7 separate regions of the Homo sapiens genome follow, and regions 2, 3, 4, 5, 6 and 7 are each linked to region 1. Evidence: promoter capture Hi-C in 16 types of primary human blood cells and fetal thymus (Javierre and others, 2016). All regions are on one chromosome and are shown on one strand. The core of a region is centred on a gene start or on the middle of the fragment in contact, and the rest is flanking DNA. Distances in the headings are between cores, read along the strand shown. Region 1 holds the start of STAU2 (staufen double-stranded RNA binding protein 2). Region 2 overlaps STAU2 (staufen double-stranded RNA binding protein 2). Region 3 overlaps TMEM70 (transmembrane protein 70). Region 4 overlaps ELOC (elongin C). Region 5 has its middle 41 kb from the start of LINC01617. Region 6 overlaps STAU2 (staufen double-stranded RNA binding protein 2). Region 7 has its middle 22 kb from the start of LINC01617.

Region 1 (3,280 bases), core at 294-2,793:
TGACTGTATTAGAATGCTGACTGGGTGCGTAAGCCGCTAGAAGGAGCACAGCAAATTTAGGGAGGATGCAACATGTTAAATCCGAGGGAACTGGCAGAGGTGAAAAGGGGGGAAAGGAGCATAGGAAAGAGTTCTGGGAGGAAAAATATAGCTGTAGCTAACATTGTACCAGGAGAGGTACTACATACCCGGTCCTATTTAAAGGGCTTCATATGTATTGTCACATTTAAATACGAACTATCTATCACATGTAGTCTCCTCTTGATGCACAGGATAAGTAACATGCCCGTGGTCTCCTCACCAGTTAGCAAGCGGATATCCAGCCTTGGTTATCTGACTCTGGCGCCCTTGCGGTTAACCAGGACACACACTACCTTCCCAGGTGCAGACATGAGATTGGTTTTAGATGATGACTGAAATCACCGGCCTGGGAGACATTTCTCAGTCAGAGAAGTGACACTGGGAAGAAACCCTAGAAATAACGTTGCAAACGAGTAAGTTTGTGAAAACACACTAATAGTTCTATTTCGAAATTTCTTTGTCAGATTATTTTTGGTGCCGGTTACTAAACGAAGTGTTCAGTTTCATTGAGCTTAACTGGGTTGAAGTTATCTAGACAAAAGTAATCCACATCAAAACCAGGACGAATTAAGACGTAATTTCTGTTTTCTGGCACTCTTGCCTCATAAATCTAGGATTCAGGGCATTGTTTTCAATGGTTCTCATTTTTGGCTCCAAGGATTCTTTTTCATGTGACTAATATTTTCGGTAGAAGAGGAGGTCTGGCCACGCCGCGGGTCTTGGCGAGCAGGTGATCACGGATCCCTGGTGTTTGCTGGGCGAGACGGTGAAGCAACCTCCTCCCCGCCCCCTCCCCCGTCTAGAAAGGTGCAAGATCCGCTAAACCGTGCGTTGCACAGCGGCGGCCGGAGCAGACGCGGGATGGTCGCGCGTCCCCTGCACAGCACAGAGGGGCAGCCGGAGAGCCTGGGAAAGGTACGAGCGGGGAATCAGAGCACAGGGTGCGGACCAGAAAGAGCAGACGGTCAGTCGGGCGGGGAAGGAAGTTGCCGAGTTGCAGGTGTGGAAGGGGCTGCCCCAGGCCCACCCTTGGCAGACGAGGGGGCGGGGAGTCGCGCCGGGGACGAGGAGACTGCGGACCGGGCGCGCTCCTTGCGCAGTCGCTCGCCCGCGTGCCCAAGCCCCCCGGGAATGGCCCTCGCCCAGGGGCCCAGCTCGCCGCCGCTAGCCCCGCAGAGCCTGCAGCTGCTGGGGCCCGGCAGCCGCCAGGGGGCGGGAGCTGCGTCGCGAACAATGGCCGCGCTTGGTCGCGGGCCGGCGGGAGGCGGAGTGGAGGTAGAGCCGGTGCCGGGCGCGCGCGCCGGCCGGGCGTGCTGGGGCGCGGGAGCGGCTGCGCAGGCGGGGGCGCGCGGCGCGAGCGCGGGAGGGCGCGGCGGGAGCGCCGGGGAGGCGGGCGGAGGCGGGCGGAGGCGGGGGGCGGGGAGCCCGAGGGGTGGAAGCCGGCGGCGGCCGAGCGGGGTCAGTTCTCTGTAGTGTTTGCCAATGTTGGAGCCGTCTGCAAAGTGTCCCCGGCAAGAAGGTAAATACCCTCATCGGGGGCGTCCGGGAGACCCCGACTTCCGCGCCGCCGGCGAAGAAGGCAGAGGGCGCTGGGGAGCCCTGCAGTTCCGCAGCACGGGGAACCCGGAGAAAAGCAGCCCCCTTCGCGGCCTCCCCTCCCCCGCGCCTTCCCTCCCACATCGGGCTCTCGGGGCAGCAGCGGGGAGGGGAGACCGGCGGGGGAGGGAGGACAGGGAGGCGAAGGAATTGGGGTGGGGGGTGCGTGTGTGGTGGAGGGGGTGGGACGACACAGGTGTCCTGAGGGGAGGAGCCGGGAGGAAGGCGAGGAGGCCGGGCCAAGTGGGGGTGCGGAGGTCGGGGAGACAGGAACGCGGCTGCGGGCGCGGGAGGCTGGGGTTCTAGGGGGCCGGGGTGGTAGCGGCCGGAAGAGAGGACGGCGAGTGCAGCCACGGTGTGGCTGCGAGGGAGAGGGAGCGCCTAGAGTAGGGCAGGGGAGGGCGGCCCGGGGAGGGTCTGCGGGAAATGGGCCTGGGGGCGCTGGAGGCGGAGCGGCGGGGCCGGGGCGCGCCGGAGGGTGGCGGCGGCAGCTATTTCTGTAGAATGGGCTAGTGGTAAAGACGTAACTTGCCGAAATGGGGAGGGTAGGTGGGGCCGAGGGGACAAAATATATCCTATGACAGGCAAGTTCTGCTGTGGCTGTTACGAACTCCTACCGTGATGGCTCGGCTTAAAGGGGTAGTTGGCGGTAGTGACCTTGCCGGGGTGAAGGGAGTTGGGCGAGGAGACAAAGCTCAGTTACGGAATCCGCTGTGTGAGAGCAGGAACTCTAGTCTCTTCGGGGTCGAGCCGGGGGCTGTGGCTTGGGGGCTGGGGGTGCTCCGCAGAGGCCATTGAGAAGCACGCCACTCTGGGATTCTTAGGGAGGCGGTGGGGGTAATGGCCGTGGGATTCTGGAAGTCTTTGGAAATGTGTGTAGAATTTTGCATTTGTGAATAATTTTCTTTGGTAAGGGTCCATATTTGCTGTGATGTCCCCTTACCCCCATCCCCACTCCAAAGGGTTAAGAACTGCTTGAGCAGATAGAGAGGGACCATTCAATTAGGGTAGACCTGGGAATTTACCAAAGGATTTTAAAGTGGGTGGATCCTGCAGAAAGAAAGGCTAGAGATGATCCTTTAAAGATATTTTACTGTTAATTGAAAACGTTTTTTATTTAATGTTTGCTTTCACAATTTTGGTGAACTTTTGCTGAGCATTACTTGGCTTCTGATGCATCCTGTGTTTCAGACCAGCATCGTGAATACTTGAAATCAAAATTGTGATGGACAGGCAGGGTGATAGTAACCTTGGAGGAGAAAAGATTTCAACATTTCTCCAGGATATTTCTTCCCCGTCCTTGCTTTCTTTAGATGATTCAAGTACACTGTTGTGAACTCAGCTGCGGTGGAAAAATCTTATTTAATAAAACTACCAAAACCAAGACTTACTCTCCATCTCTGTTTTGTAGTATGGCCAGATTTTCATTGTTCAGTTTGTATCTTACTGCAAACAAGAGATATCACATAACACTTTAATTGTAGATTGCTGCATTTTGCAGCAGGCCTGTATTAAATTTGCGAAGCAGTTATGCCAAACTATCTGGTGTGTTTGTGTTTTCCTGCTATGGTTTCAAGTCAAGTCACTATTGCCATATTTTATT
Region 2 (3,280 bases), core at 450-2,949, 240 kb after region 1:
GAATTAAAGAAAACCAGGATTAAACGAAAGTATAACAACAATGGTTCAACAAATAAAGAATCTCAAGATAAATTATTTAAAAAGTCAAATGGAAATTCTGGAGTTGAAAAGTACAATAACCGAAATGAAAAATTCACTTGAGTAACTCAATAACAGATTTGAGATGGCAGAAGAACCCACACCCATAAACTTCAAGATAGATCAGCGTGTAGCTTTGAAAGGAAGAAGCAAAATGTTCTTTATTTCCAGATGATGTGATCCTGTATGTAGAAAATCCTGAGAAATACCCACCCCCCACACACATACACACACACACCCTATTAGAACTGATAAACAAGTTCAGTTACAGACAGGATATAATTTATAGATGAATATACAAAAATTTGTTGTATTTCTATATACTGGTAAAAAAAAACCAAAAATGAAATTAAGACCATTTCATTCACAGTAGCATCAAAAAGAATAAAATACTTAGGAATCAGTTTAAACACAGAGATGCAAGATTTGCACATGGAAAACTATAAAATATTGCTAAAAGAAATTAAAGATCTAAAACAAATGAGAGGTATTCAATGTTCATGGATTAGATGAACCTTTAGTGTTAAGTTCGCACTTTCTCTTAAATTGACCTATAGATTTAATACAATCCCTGTCAAAATCCCAGCAGGCTTTTGGGGATAGCAGTTGACAAGCTGATCTTAAAATGTGTATGGAAATGCAAAGAGACCAGAATCGCTAAAACAGTTTTGAAAAGGAAGAACAAAATTGAAACATTTACACTACTGAATTTTAAGTTTTACTGTAAAACTACAGTACTCTACTTAGTGGCATTAAGGATAGACATGTAGATCAGTGGAACAGAATTGAGAGTCCAGAAATGAACTTTTATATTTATTTTTGATCAATTTTCAATAAAAATGCCAAGGAAATTTAATCAGGAAAGAATAACATTTTCAACAGAGGGTACTGGGAAAATAAAACATTCATATGAAAAAGATGAATTTGGAGCCTTACCTCATACCATATGCAAAAATTCACTCAAAATAGATAATAGACTTAAATGTAAAACCCAAAACTTTAAAACTTCTCAAAGAACCATAGGAGAAATGTTCATGATCTTGGGTTAGGCAAAGAGTTCTTAGATATGACACCAAAATCATGATCCATACAAGAAGAAATTGGTAAATTGGACTTTACCAAAACTTAAAACTTTTTTGCATTAACAACATTATTAAGAAAATGAAAATTGAGAGCCACCTCATGGTGGGGCACCAGCTGCCACCCACATGGGAGGGGCGGAAAAGTGGGGGACGTGGTTGTGGGCAAAGACAAGTGCAGGGAGCAGTGGCTTCTCTTGCTGTCCCTGTCCCACATCTGGTCATCATGAAGAGTTCTCCCATGGTGTTGTGCATCAACCTCGAGGTGCTCCTGGCCAAGGCCACACAACTCTTTGTTAAGTCTCTAACCATCTATTCCTACGGTCATGGCAGTAGAAAGAAGAAAGCACTAACAGTAATTTAGCAAATACAGCAGAGGAATCAGAAATTTTTCAGTTTCTTGAAGGTGTATTATTGCCAAAGAAGGTTTCCACTAGTAAATACCTGAAAGTTCTTAAAGAGGAAAGGAGGGAAGAAGAAGATGAGGAGGAGGGGTAGAATGACTATGATGGTGAAAGTGATGTTGATGAAGGTGAATACTAAACCAAAAGAGAAGTGCTTTAATCAGCCTGGTATGGACCCTTCTGGATTAGCTCCATTGCTTAGAAGTAAGCACAACACTGCATGTTTAGTTTCCTCACTTTTTCAGATGTCCAGTAGGTTGTTTCCCTTCGTGGATAAGATAGAGCATCTCATGCACCGACACCATAAGTAGCCAAAGAGGAAGGAACCCAGAGAGCAGCCTCGCTTTGGTGAGCCCACACTGCCTTCAGTGGTCACCAAGAACGTTGCCCACGCAGGCAGGCGCTGCCAGTTGACCTTCTGCAGCTCCCAATTGCAAGGCAGAGATGATTCTACTTAACTTTTAAATTTACAAATAGATTTGAAGAGCTTCTAAATATCAATTGTGTAAATCCATTGATAAGGCTTGGCACCAAAATCTCATCTTTAATTGTAGTTTCTATAATCCCCACATGTCGTGGGAGGGACCAGGTGGAAATAACTGAATCCTGGGGGCAGTTTCCCCCATCCTGTTCTCATGATGTGAGTGAGTTCTCAGGAGATCTAATGGATTTATTAGGGGCTTCCCCCTTCACTGGGCACTCATTCTTCTCCTTGCTGCTGCTATGTGAAGAAGGATGTGTTTGCTTCCCCTTCCGCCGTGATTGAAGTTTCCTGAGGCCTCCCCAGTCATGCTGAACTGTGAGCCAGTTAAACCTGTTTCCTTTATAAATTACCCAGTCTTGAGTGTGTCTTTATTAGCAGTGTGAGAATGGACTAATACATCCATATATGTATATTTTGAAATTAGTTCTTGTAAAAATACATAGTTTATAGTTAGTGTGTTACATCTGAATTGTACTATTTGTACAAATTTGACTATTTGTCCAAATATTATTAATTTTTTACTGTAAAGAAATATACTTTCTGGCCAGGCGCGGTGGCTCACGCCTGTAATCCCAGCACTTTGGGAGGCAGAGGTGGGCGGATCACATGAGATTGGGAGTTCGAGACCAGCCTGACCAACATGGAGAAACCCCATCTCTACTTAAAAAAATACAAAATTAGCTGGGTGTGGTGGCACATGCCTGTAATCCCAGCTATTTGGGAGGCTGAGGCAAGAGAATCGCTTGAACCCAGGAGGTGGAGGTTGCCATGAGCCGAGATCACGCCATTGCTCTCCAGCCTGGGCAACAAGAGCGAAACTCAGTCTCAAAAAAAAAGAAAAAGAAAAAGAAATATACTTTCCAATTAAAGATTTATGCATATTTTTACATCAAAATGCTGTATGGAACTAGTTGTAGAGGCCTTTATTGTTCTAATGCTTTGCTTACTACCTGAGAATTTTGTGAAATTTAAAAAATAAGCATTTCTAACAGTTTTATGCCAACAGAAAAATTCCAGGTCAAATTATCAACTCAAATACAAAAAAGAAATTTCCTCTGCATAAGCATATTATTCTTAATTTTTTTTTACCAGTTGTATATTGAAGAAATCTCTCATCTTACTGTTCTTTACTATAATTCCCCAGTAATTGTTTTTACTATCTACCAGAGAAAACCATAAACCCTATTTTTTTTCACATAAGGAAAATATGTGGCTCCTTTCTTTTCAGTATCTTT
Region 3 (3,280 bases), core at 380-2,879, 240 kb before region 1:
TTGTAGAGTTACAAAAGTAAATATTTAAGAAAGAAATATTATTATGACTGGAATTTGCTTTCCCCAAAAAGTAGAGGGCAAATGATTAGGTCTAGATGAAACAATAGTGACTATAAATTGGTCATTGTTGAATCTGGATGATAGAGTCATGCAGGTTCACTGTACTCTTTTACTTTTGTGTTTGAAATTCTCAATAAAAATAAAAGCAAGTTCAAGGTGTTCTAAAAGAATCAGAATAAAATTTTTACAAATACATTCAAGCTAAGACTGCCATTCATATCTAATGGCCATCTTGTTACTTTTGCTTCCAAAAGCCTTTCAGTACAGTGAAATCTACATTAGAGAAAAGGATTGCAATATTTTATTGTTAACAGGGTTATTACCTGATGTAACCCAGATGTCAGCTAGGATCACCTTGCCTTTTCACATGCAAATAGGTGACTTTTGTGATGCAAATAAGTGATTCACCTTTGCTAGACAGTGAGAGATTCATTACCTTCCCAGTCTTCCTGAGATTACTCTGCCTGGGGTAGGATAGCAAAGTGGCATGAGGGAGGTGCCTATGTTTCTCCTCCTAACCTTGGCCTGAGTTGGTTCTGCTGATTATTTCAGTGATGAATCATCCTGTTATCCTATGCATGCTGATCCTTTCTCTGTCCTAGATTCTCACTCCATATCATGCCCTTGAGATGTCACCTTTCCCACTTAGTGAAAGCATATTTTTCCCCTAGACTACCAAGTTGCCTTCTGAAGAATTATTCTGATATCAACCAATAAAAACAAGTTTTTCACTCCACTACACACTGATAAAATGCCTTGAAATTTCTTTTTCATTGCATCCTTGGATGTTGCACAGATCATTTTACTTTTCAGAGGTGCTAGTTCTCATGCCTACAAAAAAAAAATCAACTCTTCTGTACTGGATTCTTTTGTTTCAAAGCTTGCATCATACAAAGCACAGCGACAATCTTTTTCAGGAAGCATTCCCACAAAATGCTTGAAAGGACCAGTTATGGTTACACCAACATCTCCAACCAAGATCTCTTTGCCTTCTTCTACAATGATGCACTTTTCGTCTGCACCGAGACAAAAAATGACAGCCTTCTTTCTTTTCTTGATTTCTTCTGGTGTGGAGCATTTACGAACTTTCATGTCATAAAAAATGCGACATACTTCATCAGCTACTTGCACTCCTGAGGCCATCTTCGCCTCTGGGGTTGCAGGGATGCGGGGGAGGGAGCCGGTGGGCAGTGAGTCTGCAGGGCATCCTCTTCACGGCTGTGGGACCGAGAGCACAGTCATAAAATGATCACATGGATATAGAACATGTAAATGTTAGATATGAGTTCTAAATTTCTCTTCAAAGAGTCAATATGTATGTTCAATTCTTTGCCTTCTACTTTTAAACTTAACTTCCTCGTAAAGCAACCTTTTCTGATTACCTGCTCCACCCTGACTCATTCCAATTACCTGCTCATTCTCCACAACCATTTTTCCCGCCAAACCACTCACCCTATCAGTCTCTTTAAATTAGCCAGTCGGAATTAGTTTAGCCTGTGCGGTCTAACCCTAGCCAATAGGAGAACAACAGAGCAGCAGGGGCCACATGTGTCAGGAATAAGACCCCCTTTTCCTCCCTTGTCCAAGTGTGCGCTCACCATTGCTCCATCTGTGAGGGCGCCCCCTTCTATAGAAGTAAACTGCCTTGCTGAGAAGAAAAAAATAAAATGTTATATTTGAGTGCTATTTCTTTTGCAGCACCAAAACTTTATTTATAACATAAAGAAATATATTGCACTTAAAACAAGTTATGAAGAGATGTAATATTGGAAGAGATCTTTAAAATGTAAACAATGCTATTTTTTCTAGGGGGAACTAGGAGTGATTTTTTCCTTTTTTGTTTTTGAGATGGGGTTTTGCTCTGTCACCCTGGATGGAGTGCAGTGATGTGATCCCAGCTCACTGCAGTCTTGATCTCCCAGGTTCAAGCGAGTCTCCCACCTCAGCCCCCCAAGTAGCTGGGATTACAGGCAAGAGCCACCACACCCAGCCTCTTTCTTCCTTCTACTTTCTAATGTATCCATAATAAACATTTGATCATAGAATAACTTTCTATAGAAAGATATCTCTTATCTTAGGGGTGTCCAATCTTTTGGCTTCCCTGGGCCACGTTGGAAGAATTGTCTTGGGCCACACATAAAATATACTAATGATAGTGATGAGCTTAAAAAAAAAATCTCAAAAATAAAATTTAAGTTTACGAATTTGTGTTGGGCCACATTCAAAGCCGTCCTGGGCTGCAGGCTGGACAAGCTTCCCTTATCTAGTAGGTTGCTATGAAAAAAATAGAAACACATCTCTCATTCATTGCTAGGATACATCTAGGGGACAAAGGACAGAGAAGCAAGCAGGCAAAAACCCACCTTGAGCAGAAGATGGCACAGAGGAATGGCGGTGGGAATTCTCAGTCTGGTGAGCTGGACAATCCAAGCAGAGGGCAGGCTCTACGTCTCAGAAAGACAGCTTTTCTGTCTTATCTCCTATGAATAAGTTTCGAGCAGCCTGGGAGTTGAATGATCTCTTTGAACAGATGTTCCTGCTGCTTCCCCATCAACCTCCCTCATACACATGTACGCCATAAAGTTTAAATTTACTATCATGGTGGCCATAGACAATGTTAGGTAGCTCCATAAAGACAGACGGGGTGTTTCATTCTTAACTGTGATCTTAGTAACTAGCACAGTACTGGGCACTTAGTAAATATCTACTGATCTAAATAGTGTGGTTTGAGGCCTCTTGTTCCTGGCTAAAAATCCTTGGCAAGAGTCAATCTCCACTTTACAATAGAGGTAAAAATCTTACAATGGATATTCTTGACAAAGCTAGCATAGAGACAGCAATTTTACACAAGGTATTTTTCACCTGTTTAATAACAGTGGTTTTCCTACACCCATAGGGTGCCACCAAGGGAGGAGTGCACAGTTGCAGAAACAAATTAAGATACTGAAGACAACACTACTTACCATTTCCCGTATAGCTAACCACCAGTTCAACTGTACATGTATGTTCTTATGGGCAATCATGCCAGGGGTTAGGCAAAAACCTGTGTTCTGAACCAAAGAAGACTTAAAACTGCTCCCATAATTTGTGAATTTCTTGAAATTTTGCGGTTTTTTGAAAATTTTTTAACAACTGGTAATCAATTTATGAAAACAGTTGACTTAAGCATTTGCAATGGTGACTTCCATCTCAACTCCTGGCTCAATACTGATGGAAGTAA
Region 4 (3,280 bases), core at 531-3,030, 200 kb before region 1:
GCTTGCTTGCTTGTGAGTGACAGGGTCTCTGTCTTGCCCAGGCTGGAGTACAGTGGCGCCATCATGGCGCACTGCAGCCTTGAACTCCCGGGCTCAAGCAGTCCTCCCACCTGAGCCTCCCCAGTAGCTGAGACTACAAGTAGGTCTCCCAAAGTGCTGTGATTACAGGCATGAGCCACCATGCTCAGCCCATTTCTTTTAAGTAGTATTTTTCTTATTATTTTAGGTAAACAGTTAAATAGTTTAAATAGGTTTTTTGTTTGTTTTGTTTTATCTTTTAAGACGGAGTCTTGCTCTGTCACCCAGGTTGGAGTGCAGTGGTATGATATCAGCTCACTGCAACTTCCACCTCCTGGATTCAGGTGATTTTATATATTCACTAATTCTCAGAAAAGCCAAATCAGAAAACCTGTTATTTGCCCTGACTTTATTTTTACATGGCAATTCAGTACAACACAGGGATCCTAATGATCCATAAAGACTTGATTGCCTGGATTGATCTTTTTTAAAAATGATTTTACTTTTTCATCCTGCTCGCCAATCATACCACCAAGATTGTTAGGAAAAGCTACTTAAGTTTCCAACCCACAGGGAGAGAATTAGAATTTTAAAATTCAGTCTTGATGAATCTCAAGTACTATCTTTTTTTTTTTTTTGAGACGGAGTTTCGTTCTTGTCGCCCAGGCTGGAGTGCAATGGCACAATCTTGGCTCACTGCAACCTCTGCCTCCTGGGTTCAAGAAATTCTCCTGCCTCAGCCTCCCGAGTACCTGGGATTACTGGCACTCACCACCACGGCCAGCTAATTTTGTATTTTTAGTACAGATGGGGTTTCACTATGTTAGTCAGGCTGCTCTCGAACTCTTGACCTCAAATGATCGCCCACCTCAGCCTCCCAAAGTGCTGGGATTACAGGCATGAGCCACCCCGCCCGGCCCTCAAGTACTATTTTAGTAAAGGTTTTTTTTAATGTTGGCCAGGTGCAAGTGGCCAAGCCTGTAATCTTAGCACTTTGGGATTCTGAGGCAGGGGGATCACTTGAGTCCAGTAGTTCAAGACCAGCCTGGGCAACATGGCAAAACTCTGTCTCTACAAAAAATACAAGAATTATCCAGACATGGTGGCGCTCACCTGTGGTCCCAGCTACTCGAGGAGGCTGAGGTGGGAGGATCACTTGAGCCCAGGAGGCAGGGGTTACAGTGAGCCACAACCATGCCACTGCACTCCAGCCTGGGCAACAGATCAAGACTCTATGTCAAAAAAAAGAAAAAAACTTAGGTTAATACTAAAAAAATCAGAATTCCATAATTCATTTGGTGCTAATTGAGGTTATTTTAATGATGATTAGTTTGCTAGGGCTGCCATAACAAAGTACCACCCCTAGATGGCTTGAACAACAGAACTTTATTTTCTCACAATTCTGGAGTGTAGAGGTTGAAAGTAGAGTTGGTCTCTTCTGAGGCTCTCTTTTTGTCTTGTACATGGCCATCTTCTTCCTGTCTTCACACAGTTTTCCCTCTATGCCCATCTCTGTCCGGATCTCTTACGAGAATACCAATCATGGCCGGGCGCGGTGGCTCATGCCTGTAATCCCAGCACTTTGGGAGGCTGAGGTGGGTGGATCATGAGGTCAGGAGTTTGAGACCAGCCTGACCAACATGGTGAAACCCCGTCTCTACTAAAAATACAAAAATTAGCCGGTCGTGGTGCTGCACACCTGTAATCCCAGCTACTCAGGAGGCTGAGGCAGGAAAATCGCTTGAACCTGGGAGGTGGAGGTTGCAGTGAGCTGAGATCCCGCCATTGCACTTCAGCCTGGGTGACAGAGCGCGACTCTGTCTCAAACAAACAAACAAAAAGACACCAATCATATTGGATTGCCACCCTAATGACCTCTTTTAATTACCTCTTTAAAGAACTTATCTCTAAATACAGCCACATTCTGTGGTACAAGGGGTTAAGACTTCAACATATGAATTTGGAGGACACAATTCAGCCAATAACATACATAATTCTTTTGTTTTACAGGTCAGTTTGCTGAGAACGAAACCAATGAGGTCAATTTTAGAGAGATACCTTCACATGTGCTATCGAAAGTATGCATGTATTTTACGTACAAGGTTCGCTACACTAACAGCTCCACCGAGATTCCTGAATTCCCAATTGCACCTGAAATTGCACTGGAACTGCTGATGGCTGCGAACTTCTTAGATTGTTAAATAAAATAAATTATAATAAACTGTTAACTCTTTTCAGTATTTAATACCTGTAGTTCAGTTAGTAACTTTTTCATATATAGCATGTTGCCTGTATGCAGTTGAACTATATAAAGTTCATTGCAAAGCAGATTATCTTGTTTTTTTGCATAGCAATCAAAGTTGAAATTTGTTTGCTACATCAACAAATTAAGGACATTTTCACAAACTGAGAAATAAACAAATATGCCAATTCGTAGGTGGTTTTGCCTTATCCTTTGAATGTGACTTAAAATCAGCAATGATGATATAGTAAATACTGAAATTTAGGTGTAAATCAATACGTTCTACAGGGAAATAATGAGGCTAAGTATTTTTATGTTTTTAGTGGTTTTTTAGAAACCTAATCTTATAGCCGCCATTAGCATTACTAGAGTTATGCAAATAATTGCATTATAAACATGTTTATAACTTAGCCAAAACATTGATTTTTATAACTCTCCAAGTATGAGTTGAAATTTCTTATGTCTTTTGATAAACTGCAGTATTCTTTAAGTGTACTTTGTCCTTTTGTTTATTGCTACAATTTAAGAACTTTATTTAAAAACAATTTTGGAAGGTTACTAGGTACAGCTTTTGCAGAAGAAACTGAACTGTAGCCAGATGGTCAGCAAGTAAACTACATGACTTAGAGTTCTTGTGCATTATACATTTTGGGTAATTCAAAGTACTGTATTTGCATTGACTATAAAGCGTCGTTTGCAATATTTATTCTTCCTTCATAGTCCCTTGTTGTGATTATACTTCCAGTTGTTTAAATGTATTTTAAAAGACTCACTATTAACTTTATTCAGATCTTAAAAGCTACACCTTTTTGAACTATTCCAGTCTTTCTCCATCCAATTAGAATGTTATGGAATAACATGTGAAGAGATACAGTGAAAATCATATTATAATGCATTGAAGATATCCTACATGAATTATCTTCTATTAAAATATGTCCCAATAAATATACCCATAATCAGTGGGTCTTCTACTGAAATCAAGCTCATTCAGCTTTTCTATTAAGCAGCCAAAAAATTTTT
Region 5 (3,280 bases), core at 267-2,766, 170 kb before region 1:
CTCCTGACCTCAAGAGACCTGCCTGCCTTGGCCTCCCAAAGTGCTGGGATTACAGACGTGAGCCACTGTGCCTGGCCACATTTTTTTTTTTTTTTGGAGATGTAGTCTCACTCTGTAACTCAGGCTGGAGTGCAGTGGCATGATCATGGCTCACTGCAGCCTTACCTCCCAGGCTCAAGCAATCCTCTCACCTCAGCTCCCAAGTAGCCAGGACTACAGGTATGTGCTACCACACCCAGCTAATTTCTGGTTTTTGGTTTTTGTTTGGTTTGGTGGAGTGGCATCTCCCCCATGTTGCCCAGGCTGGTCTTGAACTCCAGGGCTCAAGCAATCCATTCACCTTGTCTTCCCAAAGTGTTGGAATTACAGACATGAGCCACCATGCCTGGCTTAAAAGTCTTAAAGTGCTTTGAAATTAATGGCTTTATAAATTACAACAACTCCATGACAACCAACAACCAGGAGACTGTTTGAAAATGTAAAAGTAGGTTTGCCTGACTAACAATTGCTTAGGGTAATAGAACAGTTAATTGAAGGATTGATATCCTAAAAAAAAAAAAAAGAACTAGATAATAAATATTTATAAAAGTTAGAATCTTAGATTAAACAGATTGAAATCTTGAGTTCAGAGCAATAATAATAAATCTCTGTCCAGCATAAACATTGTTTTGTCTGCCACACAGAGGCTAAAACAAGCAAAAGCCAATGGAAAAAAACTGCTAAAATGTTTCCCTGCCTGCATTGACTAGTCAAGCAAGCCAGACCAGTAAACAAAAGAAAGATTTGTTACGAATTCAAGGCCACTTGGAGATTTTGTATTTCTTACACAATTCAGCCAGTTTCAACTAAAATGTAAACATTTAAATATTTAACCCTAAACTCATTTGAAACTGTTAAAAGAGTAAAAAGTGTTTGTTTTTAATTGAAACTTCTATGGGAACTGTTTTGCCCAAAATTTTGGTTCACAGCCTTCATTAGGTTACCTTTCAGGTCAAATAAAAACTGAGCCATGTGAACAGGTCCCATTTTGTCAAAAAGTAATTTGGATCCAACTGTCTTTTTTGAACTCATGTTTGTTTTACTATCTTATGACTAAAATTCTAAAACGAAAGCTATCAGAGCCTTGTGTGTGTATATGTGTTTAGGTATGTTTATGTACATGCATATGTATTATGTTATATGTTGTGTTTACATGGTAAAATATGGCATTATCAAAGTTCCCTTAAGAAATTCTATTCAGATTGGCTTAGATAAATGAGCATTCAAGTAACATATATAATAATTAACTCAATGCCTTTTAATTAATGTGACAAGTAAATTTTGACAAAGAAGCTGATTTTAAATTTGGTAGTAGAATAAAAATAAAAATATCTTCGGAATTTTCAGTATACATTTTTGCCTGGATTTACTGGTCAGACAGTTTTATATTTGTTCCCACTAGATGTTTTAACTGTAAGGGCTTGTCACAAAAGTTATCAAACTATAAATTAAACCTAAAAACAGAATAGTCTTGTGCAATATTGTTGGTATAATGAAAATAACTGTATCAGGCTGGGCGTGGTGGCTCACACCTATAATCCTAGCACTTTGGGAGGCCGAGGCGGGCGGATCACCTGAGGTTGGGAGTTCGAGACCAGCCTGACCAACATGGAGGCAACCCATCTCTACTAAAAATACAAAATTAGCTGGGCATGATGGTGCATTCCGGTAATCCCAGCTACTCGGGAGGCTGAGGCAGGAGAATCACTTGAACCCGGGAGGAGGAGGTTGCAGTGAGCCGAGATCATGCCATTGCACGCCAGTGTAGGCAATAAGGGCAAAACTCCGCCTCAAAAAAAGAAAAGAAAAGAACTGTAACTTCTGAGTTGTAGGCAAAATACCTATATATTTAAATTTAAGGTTCTTAGGTGAACACCTGATGGTCACACTCTATAAAAATGGTTAACAGGGAAACAACTTGAAAAGATGACTAGTTTTATCTAATATATCAGTTTTCCTAACTAATCTAGGTATAATTGTTATAACAATTACAAATAGATTAATTAGGTAAATGTATATGAGATAAATGTTAATAAATTAAGTTTCCATGTAACTTGAAATCTTAATGTTATGTTAAATTAAGTGATAGGTACTCATAAATATCCAGATCATTTCCAAGTTTTGGGGCTCAAGCAATCCTCCTACTTAGCCTCCTGAGTAGCTGGGACTAACGCATGTGCCACCATGCCTGGCTAATTTTTTAAATTTTTTGTAAAGATGGGGTCTCATTTTGTTATCCAGGCTGGTCTTAAACTCCTGGCTTTAAGCAATCCTCCCACCTTGTCCTCCCACAGTGCTGGGATTATAGGAATGAGCCATTATGCCCAGCTGGGAAACATGTTTCTAAAATTATGAAATGGTAGCTTACGCCTGTAATCCCAGTGCTTTGGGAGGCTGAGGTGGGCAGATCACCTGGGTCAGGAGTTCGAGATTAGCCTGGCCAACATAGTGACACCCCATCTCTACTAAAAATACAAAAAAAAAAAAAAATTAGCTAGGCATGGTGGCGCATGCTTGTAATCCCAGCTATTTGGGAGGCTGAGACAGGAGAATCGCTTGAACCTGGGAGGCAGAGGCTGCAGTGAGCTGAGATCACACCACTGAACTTCAGCCTGGGTGGCAAGAGCAAAACTCTGTCTCAAATAAATAAATACATAAATAAAAATAAAAATTATGAAATGGTTCTCATCTATGAAATACTGATATGTGACAGTTCAAAATCTCTTGCTAGAAAAAAAAAACAGATAGCTGGCATGGTGGCAGGCACCTGTTATCTCAGCTACTTGGGAGGCTGAGGCAGGACAATTGCTTGAACCCAGGAGGCGGAGGTTGCAGTGAGCTAAGATCATGCCACTGCACTCCAGCCTGGGTGACAGTGAGACTCCGTCTTAAAAAAAAAAAAAAGTTATTGCTAGAAACTGAGGTTACTAAGAATTAAAAATTCATATATGTATAAATGTGTGTGTATTATAGATATAGATAGATAGATATAATTCTGTATATAAAACATACCAAAAAAAATTAGATTTTTTTTTTTTAGTCAAAGTCTCTTTCTGTCACCCAGGCTGGAGTACAGTGGCACGATCTTGGCTCACTGCAACCTCCACCTCTCAGGTTCAAATGATTCTCCTGCCTCAGCTTCCTGAATAGCTGGGACTACAGGTGCCTGCCACCATGCCTGGCTAATTTTGTATTTTTAGTAGACACAGGGTTTCATCACATTGGCCAGGCTGGTCTTGAA
Region 6 (3,280 bases), core at 415-2,914, 170 kb after region 1:
TGGATTATCAAAACTAGCCTCTTGAAAAGAATTATTTCAGTGAGGTAATGGCATTTTGGGGCTGCTTTCTGGGAATAATTTAAATTAATGTGCTTCTGAGCCCTTGGCCTGTATAAATAGGGGTGATGAATATGATGGCCTTAGCACATAGCCCAAGGAAAAAATGGAATCAGTTCAGGATTCCTAGAGTTTGTGTTCAGTTCCTTTGATGTTTGAATATATTGGTTTATAATGATTTGGTGAGGGAATGTAATAAACATGAAATTGATTGCAGTTTTATGTAAAGTACTTAGCACAGTACCTGTTTCCTAGTAAGCACGTAATGAATGTTGATTTCCTTCCATGCCTCCTCCCTCTTGTCTTTTATAAAAATGATACTATTCTATGTAGGCGTGCCAGAAATTCCATTCTTATACTTTTGTCTGTCAGATGGTTTGTGCATACATATGGTGACCAAGAATATATAGCTTATTATTGAATAGTTACATTCAGGCACTAAACTTTTTTTTCAAAGAATATAAACTTTATGTATTTTAATATAAAGATCAAATAGTTATTAACTTGACAATTTTAACGTGAAATCACTTTATAGATAACCTGCAGGCTCCATCATTAAACAATGATGTTTTGGCCCCTAGCTTTATGTGTTTGTTTTTTTTTAACTTGCTAAGGGATACATCTCATGGGATGACAAGTGGGGGATACTTCTGTCCTGTGCAGACATGGGAAGGAATATCACAAAGAGGCCAGTGAGTTTAAGTGATCAGAAATGTGTAAGAATGCATAACGGGTTTGCTTGAGACATAAAGTTAGAAGTGAGAAAACTATTTGAAGCCAGCTTAAATCTTAACCAGACGGTTAATGCTTTAGGAATTCATGGTCTACAATGGTTCAGATTAAGGCTTTGAAATAAGAATGTTCTGTTATCTCTTCCCAGCTGTAAGGAGGTGAGAAAGCTGCTCTAAGAGTTCTTTGAATGAACACTGGATTGTCCCTTCCTTGGATTACGATAGAGGATAAGGGCAGCCCAGCTCTGAAAAGTAGCTGTTTCATTCCCCAAGGGTTAGTTCTCACAAGTGAAACCTGAGTCCCCTTGAGCCAGCTCATTGGCACTTAAATACAACATTAGGAAGAAGTTGGACTGTGCTTAGGAATTGATCATTCAGATGATGGACCAATTAGCTGAAAATTAATTTAAATTCATATATTATGGTAATATTTAGGTTAACTTCTTAATCAGTTTCTTAAGTTTGAAATTCTATTCTAAATGGTTTCTGTCCTGTGAAGAATACCAGAGTTAGCATTTTGCAGGCAAAGGTTAGAGCAGGGATCTTGTGGGATGGCACATGTGGGGGAAGACAGGAATTTGAGATTGCCAGTGCTGGCTGCCTCACTGACATACTGTCTGACCTTGAACAACTCAATTTACATCTTATTATTCAATTTTCTCTGTTAAGAGTTATGCATACTAATTTATAATGTTGAGAATCTTTAATTATGTAACATTTATAAAATGATTACCCATCCTTGAATAACATCTGAAAAGGTAACATATTACTTTGTGAAAAACACTGTCATCATGAAATGGCTAACTCACTATGGTTTTTTGTTTGTTATGTTTTGTTAAACTCTACATTGCTTCAAAATTGTAGTTTTAAAGATCAAATTTTTAGCCACCCATTATTTGGATAAATAATACGAAATTAGCTTGGAACCATAATGTACAAAAATGAAAAGGGAATGTAGAATTGGAAAGGGGAAAGAGGGGAATTTTAATCTGGCATAGCACCTAACTATAAGTAGACAAAAAACATTAATGTACATGTGCATTTAATTTTTTAAGTGGAAGATATTTTTTAAAAGATTACAGTCATAGGAAACTGCTAACAATTACAACTAGAAAATAGTTTAAATGGTTTTGCAAGTGATTGTGATTACATAGCCTGGTTCCTCAATTTATTTTCCTTGCTTGATTGCCTGCAGATTTAAAATATGGACCTAGTTTTTGGGTGCTGCTCAGGCTTTCTTCATTGTACTGAAATGCAGCAGAAGGTAGACTATTCTAAGTGTGTTTTTATCCTTTGAATCACTGTAATAGTTATGTTGAAGAATAAAAACACATAACTCTGTAATGTGAGGTTTATGTTAAGTTTAGCATAGGGCAATTTTATGCTTGGTGTACACATAAAAAACTAGATTTTTACAGATGAATGAATAACTTTTTTAAAAAAAGATCATGAATTTTAAAGATCTACTGACAGCTCACGGCTCTTGGAAAACTTTGTAAAATATTTAGATACAGTTCAGCTGATAACATCTCTTTTTGTATTCACATTCCATGTTTCTTATTAATACAGGCTTTTACTTAAAAGCAGGTTCATAGTTTCTTGAAGGTGAACTGTAGCTTAATTCAAGATTGGACTAAGCTCAAAGGTATTCACTGGTATGTGCCAAATCCACCCACTAAAAGATTATTCGGAGGCATTTTTCACATAAATATTTTTCCGTTAACCTTTTAAAAAGTTTTATTTAGCCCCTGTGAAATATGCTGGCACTTGTAGGTTCATTAGAGATGACCAAAGACAAATACTTGTGGAATGAGATAGCATTCTTATTGACCTCTTTAGGATCTTAGTTGACTTACCAATATTTTTGTCACTTTTGTTTCATATGCATGTATTATTAAACACTGAACATCCTGAAACCAGGAGGCTACACTGTCCCAGTGATATGACATTGGGTAGATTGCCTGCTGGTTTCCCAAATGCTATGTACTATATTTAGAACCTCTAGTGTTTTTTTGGTTTTTTTGGGGGGGTGGGTAGGGGTGGGAGATAGAAGGGAGGTATATAAGTGTTGGACTTTTAAGGTGACAGATTAATATATACTTTCTTTAATAGTGTTTTGAGAGAGCTCCCTGAACAAATTCCCTTTGGGGTTCCCATAGTAGAAACCACTTTGTAGTGAGACAGTTAAAACAGTTGGAGCCAATTGGATGTAAATATAAAGCTGAGTGATCCAACTTAATTATTTCTTTAGACATAAATACTGTGTTAGAAATGTAAGAATGTAGCCAGCTTTTAGTGATCTTATTTAGAAGGATTGGTGGGTTACTTGTACTGGGCAGCCCAGTCCCTGAATATCTGGTTGTTTTCAAACAAAGGTCCCGTAAATAGAGGGCTATCTGAAGCAATTGGGAGCAATGGGAACATACATATTCTCATTGCTGTCCATTTGAGCCTGCAGGTAGAATTGCTGCTTCTCCTCTGAACACAGGAGG
Region 7 (3,280 bases), core at 311-2,810, 150 kb before region 1:
AGGTCAGAACAAGACTCCATATCATGAGACTCTTTTCTTTTTTCTTGTTCTTTTCTTTTTTTTTTTTTTTTTTTTTTTTTTTTGAGACAGGGTCTCATTCTGTCGCCCAGGCTGGAATGCTGTGATGTGGCGTGATCTTGGCTCACTGCAACCTCTGATTGTTGGGCTCAGGTGATCCTCCCACCTCAGCCTCCAAGTAGCTGAGACTACAGGTGTGCACCACCGGGCCCTGCTAATTTTTCTATTTTTAAAAAAGATGGGGTTTCTTTATGTTGCCCAGGCTGGTCTCAAACTCCTGGGCTCAAGCGATCCACCCACCTTAACCTCACAAAATGCTGGGATCACAGGTGTGAGCCAGTGTGCCCGGCCCATGAGACTCTTAATGCTTACCTTTCCACTTGACAGGATAACAGTCGTTTGATTCATTCAATTGGTTGCTTTTAAGCCTAGTTCATAGCTCAAAACCATTATGCTAACTGGGATTGTCATAACACTATTAGTTTTACTTTATATTTTACCTTTTAAAATTTGTATCTGTTACCTGTTAAACTTTTGCAGAAGTACAACTCCTAACAGAATAATTCTGGTCCTGAACTTTGAGGTTATAGCAAAAACTACAGAACAGACAAAATTGGACTTAACAATAAACTCCAGGTACACTTAGCCTGACAGCCACTCTTTTCAAACCTCCGTTGTTGCTCAAATGTGCCTTCAAAGGTTTTGACACTGACTCCTAGTCACCAATCACTTCTTCAACATGGGACCAGACCAGCAACCTGGGGCAGGTCCACCCTGGCACCAAGGGACAATCAAAACCTACCTACAGGATGATTGATCAGTGATGCTTTTGGAGAAAGATCTTTCTCAAAGAGGGGAATGTAAAAGTTCTCAGAATTAAAATAGAGTCACTTATGTTAAAAACAAAACAAGGCCCTGACAAATAGAGCCAGGGAAGGCCATGAAGGGAGGGTTCTCATGTACATATGCCTAACTACGGCAGGGTGCGGTGGCTCACTCCTGTAATCCCAGCACTTTGGGAGGCCAAGGCAGGCTGATCACGAGGTCAGGAGATCGAGACCATCCTGGCTAGCACAGTGAAACCCCATCTCTACTAAAAATACAAAAAAATTAGCCAGGCATAGTGTCAGGCACCTGTAGTCCCAGCTACTCGGGAGGCTGAGGCAGCAGAATGGTGTGAACCCAGGAGGCGGAGCTTGCAGTGAGCTGAGATCACAGCCACTGCACTCCAGCCTGGGCAACAGAGCAAGACTCTGTCTAAAAAAAATAAAAATAAAAATAAAAAAATAAAATAAAAAAATGCCTAACTACAAGAATTACCACAAAAGACTGCCAAACCCATAACCCTACACAAAGGCCATCACAACTTTACACAAAAATATACTTCTGTGAGGCTATCTGCCCAGCAACTGCCTATCCATTTGCAGGCATCACCCTGGTTATTGATCAGACTGGCATCGCCCTTGTTATTGATTCTTGTAGCCAAGGATAATCATCTCAAAACTATTAAGTAATCATCTTCTTCATTTTTCCTTTACCCCTTTTCCCACTTAGGAAAAAAAGGTGCAGCTTGCTGCCAGCACTCATTTAATTTTACATAAACAAGCTCATTGAGGCTGAAGCAAATCTGACTGATTTTCAATGTGAAAATAAAACATAAAAAGTATTCTTGGAGTTATTTCTAAACAGAACTAACATCAGAATTGTCTGAATCACCAGAATCGTCTATTTAGGAAAAATCAGATTCATCAAATAACTCTTCGGCCAACAACTGTTTGAGAACAACTAACATCACATATAGGAATGCTACATTTTCTAGGATTTGATTTTCAACCATCGAGAATTACTGTGTGTAAATCGAACTACCACTGTTAAAAACAGAATGCTACAAATAGAATGATGTCTTTTGTTTCCAAAATCAACACACTGGAGTGATGCAAACGTAATAATATTAATAAAAGCCAGATATTTTGTGGCAAAGTTATCTTGGGGTATGCTGCAGCCGCAAGCACTGCTGGCAAGTATTCTTGGGCCAAATGGGAAAAGAGTTAAAAAACCTTTGTCTTCCTTTACCTCCCTGAATACACACATAGTTTACTCTGGTACATGTATTCCCATTGCAATGCCCTATTCCAAAATAAACATTTTCTTTTCTTTTTTTTTTTTTTTTTTTTTTTTGAGACAAAGTTTTGCTCTTGTTGCCCAGGCTGGAGTACAATAGCACAATCTTGACTCACCGCAACCCCCACCTCCTGGGTTCAAGCAATTGTCCTGCCTTGGCCTCCCAAGTAGCTGGGATTACAGGCATGCACCACCACACCCAGCTAATTTTTGTATTTTTAGTAAAGATGGGGTTTCCTCATGTTGGTCAGGCTGGTCTCGAACTCCCGACCTCAGGTGATCTGCCCGCCTTGGCCTCCCAAAGGGCTGGGATTACAGGCATGAGCCACTGTGCCCGGCCACATTTTCTTTTAAAGAACTTCTCTCTGTTTATTATTTAGGTTGATAGCATTTACCATGAATGGAATTTGCAGGACTGAAAGTTGTTCTGTGTGAGTCAGTGAGTGTTGAGTGAATGTGAAGGCCTAGGGCATTGCTATACATATATTTTTTTTAATTTTTGACACAGAGTCTCACTGTTGTCCAGGCTGGACTGCAGTGGCGTGATCTCGGCTCACTACAACCTCCACCTCCTGGTTTCAAGTGATTCTCCTGCCTCAGCCTCCCAAGTAGCTGGGATTACAGTCACATGCCACCATGCCTGGCTAATTTTTGTATTTTTAGTAGAGACGGGGTTTCGCCATGTTGGCCAGGCTGGTCTCGAACTCCTGACCTCAAGTGATCCGCTCGCCTCAGCCTCCCAAAGTGCTGGGATTACAGGCATGAGCCACGCACCTGGCCTGGCTACTATACATTTTTATTTTATTTATTTATTTATTTATTTATTATTTATTTTGAGACAGAGTCTCGCTCTGTCGCTCAGGCTGGAGTGCAGTGGCGTGATCTTGTATCACTGCAAGCTCTGCCTCCTGGGTTCACGCCATTCTCCTGCCTCAGCCTCCCGAGTAGCTGGGACTACTGGTGCCCACCACCATGCCTGGCTAATTTTTTGTATTTTTAGTAGAGATGGGGTTTCCCTGGGTTCACGCCATTCTCCTGCCTCAGCCTCCCGAGTAGCTGGGACTACTGGTGCCCACCACCATGCCTGGCTAATTTTTTGTATTTTTAGTAGAGATGGGGTTTCCTTGTGTTAGCCAGGATG

What was found. Contacts are between HindIII fragments. The CHiCAGO score rates a contact against its expected background, and 5 or more counts as called.
Region 2: a fragment that was not itself captured here is called in contact with the fragment with the promoter of STAU2 in region 1 in 1 of 17 cell types (neutrophils); the score reaches 5.5 in neutrophils.
Region 3: a contact is called between a fragment that was not itself captured here and the fragment with the promoter of STAU2 in region 1, in 1 of 17 cell types (neutrophils). The highest score is 5.7, in neutrophils.
Region 4: a fragment that was not itself captured here is called in contact with the fragment with the promoter of STAU2 in region 1 in 7 of 17 cell types (activated CD4 T cells, neutrophils, naive CD8 T cells and 4 more); the score reaches 11.8 in activated CD4 T cells.
Region 5: a contact is called between a fragment that was not itself captured here and the fragment with the promoter of STAU2 in region 1, in 5 of 17 cell types (neutrophils, activated CD4 T cells, naive CD8 T cells and 2 more). The highest score is 9.1, in neutrophils.
Region 6: a contact is called between a fragment that was not itself captured here and the fragment with the promoter of STAU2 in region 1, in 1 of 17 cell types (neutrophils). The highest score is 8.0, in neutrophils.
Region 7: a fragment that was not itself captured here is called in contact with the fragment with the promoter of STAU2 in region 1 in 6 of 17 cell types (neutrophils, activated CD4 T cells, non-activated CD4 T cells and 3 more); the score reaches 12.8 in neutrophils.

Annotation. Positions count from the first base shown.
Region 1 is chr8:73,745,103-73,748,382 of GRCh38, reverse strand. It overlaps STAU2 (staufen double-stranded RNA binding protein 2), which reads left to right and starts at 1,543. Exons shown (of 15, transcript NM_001164380.2): 1 at 1,543-1,600. RefSeq lists silencers at 1,041-1,330, 1,411-1,500, 1,791-1,970, 2,081-2,140. The HindIII fragment of the contact is 14,890 bases long and covers 1-3,280 here.
Region 2 is chr8:73,509,677-73,512,956 of GRCh38, reverse strand. The region is part of intron 13 of STAU2 (staufen double-stranded RNA binding protein 2); the gene reads left to right. Among named protein-coding and RNA genes, the nearest start is that of STAU2-AS1, 91 kb to the right of the region's middle. The HindIII fragment of the contact is 4,279 bases long and covers 1-3,280 here.
Region 3 is chr8:73,982,416-73,985,695 of GRCh38, reverse strand. It overlaps TMEM70 (transmembrane protein 70), which reads right to left. Exons shown (of 3, transcript NM_017866.6): 3 at 2,913-3,280. It also overlaps the pseudogene RPS20P21 and the pseudogene DSTNP3. Among named protein-coding and RNA genes, the nearest start is that of LY96, 7.3 kb to the left of the region's middle. RefSeq lists a silencer at 456-656 and an enhancer at 154-736. The HindIII fragment of the contact is 1,373 bases long and covers 943-2,315 here.
Region 4 is chr8:73,945,569-73,948,848 of GRCh38, reverse strand. ELOC (elongin C) reads left to right here. Exons shown (of 4, transcript NM_005648.4): 4 at 2,029-3,280. The coding sequence ends at 2,219. Among named protein-coding and RNA genes, the nearest start is that of ELOC, 25 kb to the left of the region's middle. The HindIII fragment of the contact is 7,172 bases long and covers 1-3,280 here.
Region 5 is chr8:73,918,304-73,921,583 of GRCh38, reverse strand. No RefSeq gene overlaps it. Among named protein-coding and RNA genes, the nearest start is that of LINC01617, 41 kb to the right of the region's middle. The HindIII fragment of the contact is 9,703 bases long and covers 1-3,280 here.
Region 6 is chr8:73,578,526-73,581,805 of GRCh38, reverse strand. The region is part of intron 12 of STAU2 (staufen double-stranded RNA binding protein 2); the gene reads left to right. Among named protein-coding and RNA genes, the nearest start is that of STAU2-AS1, 160 kb to the right of the region's middle. The HindIII fragment of the contact is 3,568 bases long and covers 1-3,280 here.
Region 7 is chr8:73,899,684-73,902,963 of GRCh38, reverse strand. No RefSeq gene overlaps it. Among named protein-coding and RNA genes, the nearest start is that of LINC01617, 22 kb to the right of the region's middle. The HindIII fragment of the contact is 6,386 bases long and covers 1-3,280 here.